3 separate regions of the Homo sapiens genome follow, and regions 1 and 3 are each linked to region 2. The links are contacts of gene promoters, found by promoter capture Hi-C in human tissues and cell types (Jung and others, 2019). All regions are on one chromosome and are shown on one strand. Each heading gives the region's core, a stretch centred on a gene start or on the middle of the fragment in contact. The rest is flanking DNA. Distances are from core to core; before and after follow the strand shown.

Evidence for each region. The method cuts DNA at HindIII sites, captures the fragments that hold promoters and counts their contacts. A contact is called where the count stands out against the background at its distance.
Region 1: a fragment that was not itself captured here is called in contact with the fragment with the promoter of PSAT1 in region 2 in 1 of the 25 tissues and cell types used here (stomach).
Region 3: a fragment that was not itself captured here is called in contact with the fragment with the promoter of PSAT1 in region 2 in 1 of the 25 tissues and cell types used here (psoas muscle).

Annotation. Positions count from the first base shown.
Region 1 is chr9:78,937,165-78,939,864 of GRCh38, reverse strand. No RefSeq gene overlaps it. Among named protein-coding and RNA genes, the nearest start is that of LNCARSR, 630 kb to the left of the region's middle. The HindIII fragment of the contact is 3,926 bases long and covers 1-2,700 here.
Region 2 is chr9:78,295,737-78,298,436 of GRCh38, reverse strand. It overlaps PSAT1 (phosphoserine aminotransferase 1), which reads right to left and starts at 1,312. Exons shown (of 9, transcript NM_058179.4): 1 at 1,167-1,312. The coding sequence starts at 1,226. RefSeq lists a silencer at 707-946 and enhancers at 899-1,482, 1,483-2,066, 1,957-2,226. The HindIII fragment of the contact is 7,295 bases long and covers 1-2,700 here.
Region 3 is chr9:78,825,538-78,828,237 of GRCh38, reverse strand. No RefSeq gene overlaps it. Among named protein-coding and RNA genes, the nearest start is that of PSAT1, 530 kb to the right of the region's middle. The HindIII fragment of the contact is 3,859 bases long and covers 1-2,700 here.

The DNA.
Region 1 (2,700 bases), core at 73-2,572, 640 kb before region 2:
TATCTCGCCCAGATGTTTCTGTGACTGCCCCTTTAAAGCATCTCTGTCTATATTTTATTTACATTTGTTCAGCAATATTGATGCTTAATGAATAAATGCACTAAACTGTCAGTACTGGAGACTAATTAAATCTATGTATGAGCCTGAGAAGCTGATTGAAAAATTTGCAAGTAACTAAACTGGGTTTAAATAAACACTTTAGTGTAGTGCTTTAATTACACTTTAGTTTGTAATGTAATTTTTGGCTGTTTAAACTATGATTTAGGCTGAGCTAATTACAAATGATTTTCTACTCTGTAATTAATAATAACAAAATTGTAATTAGACAGCTGCTCTGGATCAGGACGACAGTTTGTATGTGCTGGCTCAGGATGATGGGTCTGGCAGAGGCACAAGAAGAGCACTTGGGGATTGCAGCAGCCAGCCCCTCTCCAAGGTTCATTATTGAAGAACAAGGCCAGAGCATCTAGGTGAGTTTTACAATCCCAGCTGATGCTAGGGAAAAGGGTTTTTTATTTGTTATACACTAAATGTCCCCAGACGTTCTCAGTCCTCTGAAAAAGCACTGATGATACCAAATTTCCTTTCATTCCTAACTGTAGCTTCCAACTCACTCACTTTGCCTTTTTGTCAGAGATTAAATCAACTGGTATTAGTGTGTCCACTAATAAGTCAATTCATCATCATCATCATGGTAATGATGATCATACCTTCGATTTTTTTTATCTGGTTATGTTTGCTGCATAACACATCATCCCAAATTATAGGTCATAAAACAGCTATTTCATTATGGTGTAAGACTCTATGGGTCAAGAACTTGGACTGGGTGCAGTGGGTGTGGTTTGTCTTTGCTTCATGAAGTCTGGAGCCTCAGCTGAGAAGGCAAGAATGACTGATGACACTGGTATCATCTAGAGGCATTTTTAGTCAGCACTTCTACCCTGACTGTCCACGCGGCCAGTGATTCCTCGAAGTGTGGCAACCTGGGGTAGTTGAACTTAGTTCATGGGAGCTCAGGGACCTCATGAGTGAATTCTAGAAAACAACGTGGAGTCTGTATTGCCTCTCATGACCTAGCCTTGAAAGTCACATAGCATCACATCCGCCATACTTTGTTGTTTGTATCAACAAGTCCATCCAGATTCTAGGGGTGACATAGCAAGACGGGTGACTAGCAAGGTGCTGTAGGCTGAATGCTTGTGTCCCCCCAGAGTTCCTGTGTTAAATGCTAATGCCCAATAGGATGGTGTTATGAGATCGGGTTTTGGGAGGTGATTAGGTCATGAGGGTGGAACCCTTGTAAGTGGAATTGGTGCCCTTAGAGACTTAAGAAAGCTTCCTTGCCTCTTCCATTATGTGAGGACACAGGAAGAAGACGGTTATCTACAAACCAGGAAGTGAACCCTCACCAGACACCTAATGTATCAATACCTTGATCTTGTGCTTCTCAGCCTCCAGAACTGTGAGAGATAAACACAGGTTGTTTATAAGCCCCCCTCCTCCCAGTCCCAGTTTATGATAGTTTGTTATAGCAGCCTGAACAGAGTAAGACACAAGGTCACACTGCCAAAGGTCACGTGGGATGAAGATGCTGCAGCCATCTTTGGAAAATGCCACCTGCCACAGATTTGCAGATTTTATAGTTTTTGAAGTGCGTTTGTTACGTAACTGGATATTTAAAACCACATTGATATAGGCAGGACAGTAAATACCACCTTCATTTCACAAATTGTGTTCTGTGAAAGATAAATAATTAGGCCTTTGGTATGTGGCAAAGGTGGATAAGACCTAAGATTCAAACACTTTATATGTCCAACTGCTAACGAGAATTATGTAAAAAGAAAGACCTGGTTCTTTGTCTCTTATCATAGACTTAATTCTGAATAGCTTACTTCAGCCCATTTATCTCATTTGAAGCATTTCTGCTTCCAGATCGTCACCTTGTTTCTTTGTTGTTCACTGCTCCATTTTTGTCCTCTGTCACCCTTTCTGATTGTAACTCATGACATTTTAAAAAGAACATCATGTTTGTCATTCACATAATGTTCTTGTTCAAATGTCAGTTGAGGTGACCAAAGTTAATTTAACAAGTAATCCTTGGAAAATTCATTCTAGGAACTGGGTGCAGTGATAGTCTTACATACAGAAAAAACTAGAACAAAATTTCTAAACCTCTCTGCCTAGCACCCCCAACTCTCTCTGACACACATACACTCTGACACTCACAAAGACAAAGAACTTGCACAGGGGACACCTGAAGTTCTCCAAACAGGGGATGAAGCTCATCATCATGTTATGTTGTAGAGCAAAACTGAGGTCATGTAAGAAACCTATCCCTTGTCTTGTAAATTTCACCAGTAACATCAGAAAATTGTAAACAATTGAAGGCCATATATAATTAAGTGTCAAAATATGCAGGGAAAATGGCTATGTAAATTCAGGTAGACAGATATCAATAGGAGAGGAAAATGGACAGGTGTCATGAAGGAGTTAGATCAGATTTGCATCTTACTCTGCTTTAACTGAATATGGGAGATTACAGAGGAAAACACTTTTTATGGGTAAGAGACCAGCATCAGTAAGAACACAAAGCAGAGAGTAAGCATGGCACATGGAGATGAATGTTTTAACAATGTTTATAATGGCAAAAAAACTGGGAAAACAGCCCAAATGTTCAACCATGAGGAATTGTTTAAACAA
Region 2 (2,700 bases), core at 63-2,562:
AAGTCCTTTCCCCTTTAAAATTGGATTCTCTGTTCTTACCACAACACAGAGGAGGCTCTGTCCCAGGGAGATTTCTACTCTGCTCAACAATTGATAATTGTAAAATACTTGGCTATGCCTCATGCTGCTCCAACATATTATCAGCTCTATCCTGGTTAGAAAAATAAAAATCTAACGGCGGCGGCAGCCGCCTGACAATGGGCTCAAGGCACATCGGAGACTTTGCCTTCTTCACTGCGGGTGGGGCTGGGGACGGTGGGTTTGGCGGGGGAGGGGAGGAGCCGGGCTGGGGCCTGGGAAGGCAGAGAGTGAGTTCCACCAGCAAGATCTGATTGTGGCCCGGGAGAGAATTCAATCACTCGGTTTACTCCAGAACGAAATGAACAGGGAATTGGGTTAAGCAGCCCAAAGTCTACCAGAGTTAGAATACTCGAACGCCTTTAGGGGACAAGCAGGTTAAAAAAAGGAGGGGGGTGGGGAGAAAGGCTTTAGGAAAGGGTAGGTTCTATGGGGGACAAGGAGGGGAAAGCTGGACTGAAGGTTTTCAAATTTACATTTCTGAAAAGCAGTGTTCCTAAGTGCTGGCTAAAGCAAACACTGGTGTAAGGCGTAGGGGGGCACGCACACGCGGACCTTTAAGTTTGCAATCCCTTTCAGCTAACGTGATCCACTGCATATGCAAAACCTGTCATCGGTTCATTCCCGTTCATCACTCATTCACACTATGTCCATTCATGCATCCGCTCCACACTGCCCGGGCTCGCCGCACAGCTGCGCGAGGCGAAGGCAGAGATCAGAGCTTTTTCTTTTTCGCCCCGCCCCAGCCCCCGGACCGGCCCAGGAGATGGCACAGCCCGGGCGTCTGCAGGTGCGTGGCACCGGCGGGACAGCAGGCCCCGGCCAGCTGAGTCGTGCACTGCCTCGCACCAGCAGTCAGGGCCAGGGGCAGCTGCACGGGCACGCCTCGCCGAGCTTCCTCACCAACTGCATTCTTCCCGAAGCCCGCTTGCCGGAGCTGCTGATCCCGCTGTGCACGCTGATGCAAAGCGCCTAGGGGACTCAAGGCAGGGAGCGGGAATCCGACTGCCACACGCAGGGATGCAAACCCACCCGCGTGCGTGCTCCCGCCTGAACCTCACTCCCGGCGCCCGCTCGCGGGGACTTACTGAGTGCGGCAGCTTGGCGGGACCAGGCCCAAAGTTGACCACCTGCCTGGGGGCGTCCATGGTGCGGCGGCCAGGGCGGTGAGTCAGCCAAGGAGGACCGAACGCGTGAACGGCTGGCGTTCCTGGCCGCTGCGGTGAGAGTCTGCAGCCGGCCCCGAACCCCCGCCTTGTTCCTGCGCCGAGTCGGCGCCCCATTGGCCCGTGCTGTCGCAGGCCCTGCGCTAATTGGTTCGCGCGAAGGAGCTCACATCCCCATTGGTCGCGCTTCTGAGCCGAGTCGAAGCAGTTGCTCCTCCTCGCGTTTACTGTTTCAACCCCCATTTTTGATCAATGCAAGGAGCGCGCGAGATTGCGCCAGCCAGCCGAGCCGGCTCGGCTGCGCGCCCGCCCGAGGATTGTGGGCGGCGGGAAGAGGCTGCCCCTGCCAACCTGCCTTCGCCCCTTGAGCCCGCAATCTGGCCGGTTCCAGTCCTCCAACCCCAGAGGACCTCAGCTCCTCTCTCTTGGCTGAAAGGGCAGTTGCCGAGCAGATTTGTAGCCCCCATCCACCCACCTCTCCACCACCAGCCCCCAGTTTGGGCTGTGATGTATTTGTTCCAGAACCACCAGTCACTAATCTACCAAACTTTTCTAAGCACCCCCCACGGGCGTCAGATACCCCAGTGGAGAGAGAGGACCCCCCCAAGGTTGGAAGCGCAGGATGAAGAAGGGCCGGGGGTGGGTGGATACGGTTCTTTGTATTTGCACGTGGGTCCTGAGTTCCTGCAGGATTAAAGAACGGAGGTGGCCAAGGACGCAGGGAGGAGCGATAGCCTGGGAAGCGTGGATGCCCGCCAGGCAAGTCCTTTAAAGTCGCTGATTCTCCATTTCCTCCTTTGGGAAACGAGTGAGCTGGAAACCTGCGACAGCTCTCAGGTTGCGCCCGCGCTGACAAGCTGTGAGTTTAGAAACGTGAGGAGATATTAACAAGAACGCGATACCCATAGGGCGCTGCAGCCCAAACCAGAAGAAGGTGGCCCCTAGCCAGGCCAGGCGCAGGGCCAGAGCTGCTCAAACTTTTCCACAGAAGTGTCCTTCTCAAAAGAACTCCAGTGGAGACCCGCATGGGGTTCTGAAACAGAATACCCTCCCCCTACCCTGCAAGAAAGAAGTTCCTTTGAAGTCTGGAATTTCATCATTTTTAAACTGTGAATTTTGCATTCTCTACCATAATTTAACCTAGTTTCTTTTAATGTAAAAATATTTTCCCTGTCTGAGTAAAATTGATGCGCCAGGAATATATACAGTCCAACTGCCCCGTTTAGAGAAGGCTTGTAACTGGACAGGACTTTGGCTTTTGTTTGCTTTTCCTAATGAGAATGTGGGCGGTATGGGGCTGAGAGCAGAGGCACTGCTCTGGATCTGGGAATTGGAGGACAAAGTTTCCAGAAAAAGGCAAAATGAACAAGGCCCCTGCGTTCCTCAGCAACTTCATTAAGAAAACCGCGACATTCAAGACAGAATAAATCTCAGCCCAGAAACTCAGGCATGCAAG
Region 3 (2,700 bases), core at 135-2,634, 530 kb before region 2:
ACATATAAAAACTGTGTCTCTGCCCACCTTGGGGATTGAAAATGACAGCTACTTAACAGTCACCCACAAGCATGGTGCACATGGCTCAACATTAAGACTCAAAACAACACTGCTGCACCCGCTGGAAAACTTCATGGCGAGGTTAGGCATAAAGAAGTAGAACTGGGCCTTTTTCCTCTTGCCAGGTGTGCCACAAGCTCACTCATTACAAATTTAATAATGTGTACAGATTAAGTTGGGATAAAAACCAACAACTCAACTGTGAAACAATTCATAAAATAAATCAGCTCCAGTAATGACTGAACTGGGGTTTTCTAGTTGTTGGGTTACAATTTGTTTACCAGTTTGCTACCAGATTAACAATTATGACTTGAGTTATAAGGGAAATTCAGTTAAATCTTGAAGTGCTGTCTAAAGAATTAAATCACCTTCTTTCGATGCACCTCAGGGAAACTCAGATTGAACTGGATTATGTATTAATTCAACTTTCAGAGGAAGGTGATATACTATCCCCATTTCCCAGATGTAGAAACTGAGGCTCACACTCACATAGCTGGTAAGTGGCAGAGCTGCGATTCAAGCTGAGTTCCTCTGACTCAAGCCCAGAGTCTTTATCAACTTTACATATTCTGGCAGAACTATAGTGGCTGTATATCTTCATATATAGCCTGTGTGTGTGTGTGTGTGTGTGTGTGTGTGTGTGTCCCTTTTGTAAAAAAGAGAAAGATTTGGTGTGTATTTTTTAAACCAGACAATCCCTTAAACCCCAACTATACTTGGTTAGGTACATGTTAGTAGTCATCACGTATTTTATTTCATGCCAAGGTGAGTCTCCATGTTCAAATCAGAGCCCATGCTTTGAGCTAGGACTAAATTATATTAGGAAGTAGGTGGGGTGTGGTAGTTCATGACTATAATCCCAGTAATTTGGGAGACCGAGGCAGGCAGATCACCTGAAGTCAGGAGTTCGAGACCAGCCTGGCCAACAGGGCAAAACCCCATCTTTACTAAAAATACAAAAATTAGCCGGACGTGGTGGCATGTGCCTGTAATCCCAGCTACTCGGGAGGCTGGGGCAGGAGAATCACTTGAACCCAGGAGGCAGAGGTTGCAGTGAACCAAGATCACACCACTGTCCTCCAGCCTGGTCAACAGAGTGAGATTTTGTTTAAAAAAAAAAGAAAAATTATATTAGGAAGCTTGAAATATTGTAAGGAAAGCTAAGTACATATTTTAAGCTCTATACTGGATAGTAAAATAAAACTAGATAGAAGCTATATTTTCGAGACTATGTGAAAAGAACTAAATTGGATGGATAGTAATGAAAATACTAACGCCTTCAACTGTTTAGAGAATCAAGCAATCAACATGGGATGGAAAAGCTGAGATATAAAACTTGAGTGGACCTCGAAGAATAAATCAAAGAGGCAGAGCAACAGAGAGTTATTTAGAGCTGATTGTTCCTGGCCTGTGCTGGCTCCATGGCCAGTGTACCCATCTGGCTGCCACCTGCCTCCCTCTTCTGCTCTCTCACTACGTCTAGCTCCTTCCTACACTGAAGGCCAACAAACACTGATGTGAGTAGGGAACAAGCCTGGGCAGCATGAAAATACCTAAACACCTTTTCCTAATCCTGTCTAATTCAATGGAATTAACTTTTGATTTTAGAAAGAAAGATTCAAGTGTGTAAAGTGCTCTGCTGAAAACCAGAACAGACTTTCGTTTCAAGATGACCACCTGAATATCCTTGCCGAAATGCTTGCCTCCACACTTACAAATGATTACTGAGATGACAAAAGTGATGCAAATAATAGAAGATCATCTGCTCCTTTTTTAAAAAATAATTATTATTATTATTATTTTGAGACAGAGTCTCACTCTGTCGCCCAGGCTGGAGTGCAGTGGCACGACCCCTGCTCACTGTAAGCTCCGCCTCCTGGGTTCACGCCATTCTCCTGCCTCAGCTTCCCAAGTAGGTGGGACTACAGGCACGTGCCACCATGCCCAGCTAATTTTTTGTGTTTTTAGTAGAGACGGGGTTTCACCATGTTAGCCAGGATGGTCTCAATCTCCTGCCCTCGTGATCCGCCCACCTCAGCCTCCCAAATCCTCAGCCTGGGATTACAGGCGTGAGCCACTGCGCCTGGCCTTGCTCCCTTTTTGAATTCCATATGTCAGAAGTTTGAACTGGAGGAAGACTTCCCAAGCATAGCACCAATGGAAAATATATATGTAAACAAAATATTAGTAGATGTGACTTCTGTGCATAAAAATATAAACTCTCTGGACATAAAAATAAACTAAGTTATGAACAAGATTGAAGACAAAGTACTAATGACAATACTCACAGCAGAAGTGATAGAATAAGAGGAATACATATAGGGCTTTTACAAATCAATAAGAAAATATGAATGCCCCATTATAACAATTAGACAAGGCAAAATGTATTTTAAAATGTTAAACCTCATTAATAATCAAAGAAATTATTATGAAAACAGTGATATGCTTTTTTTTACCTGCCATACTGGCATTTTAAAAAATTTACTCAAGAGTGTTATATTGCTGTGGGAAGTGTAAATAGTTACCATCTTTCTGAAGAAATGCTTGGAAATAATGAACAAACATTTTTGCATGCCATTTGACCTAGAAATTTTATTTTTATGAGCCTATTATAAAGAAATAGCCAGGAATGTATGCAAA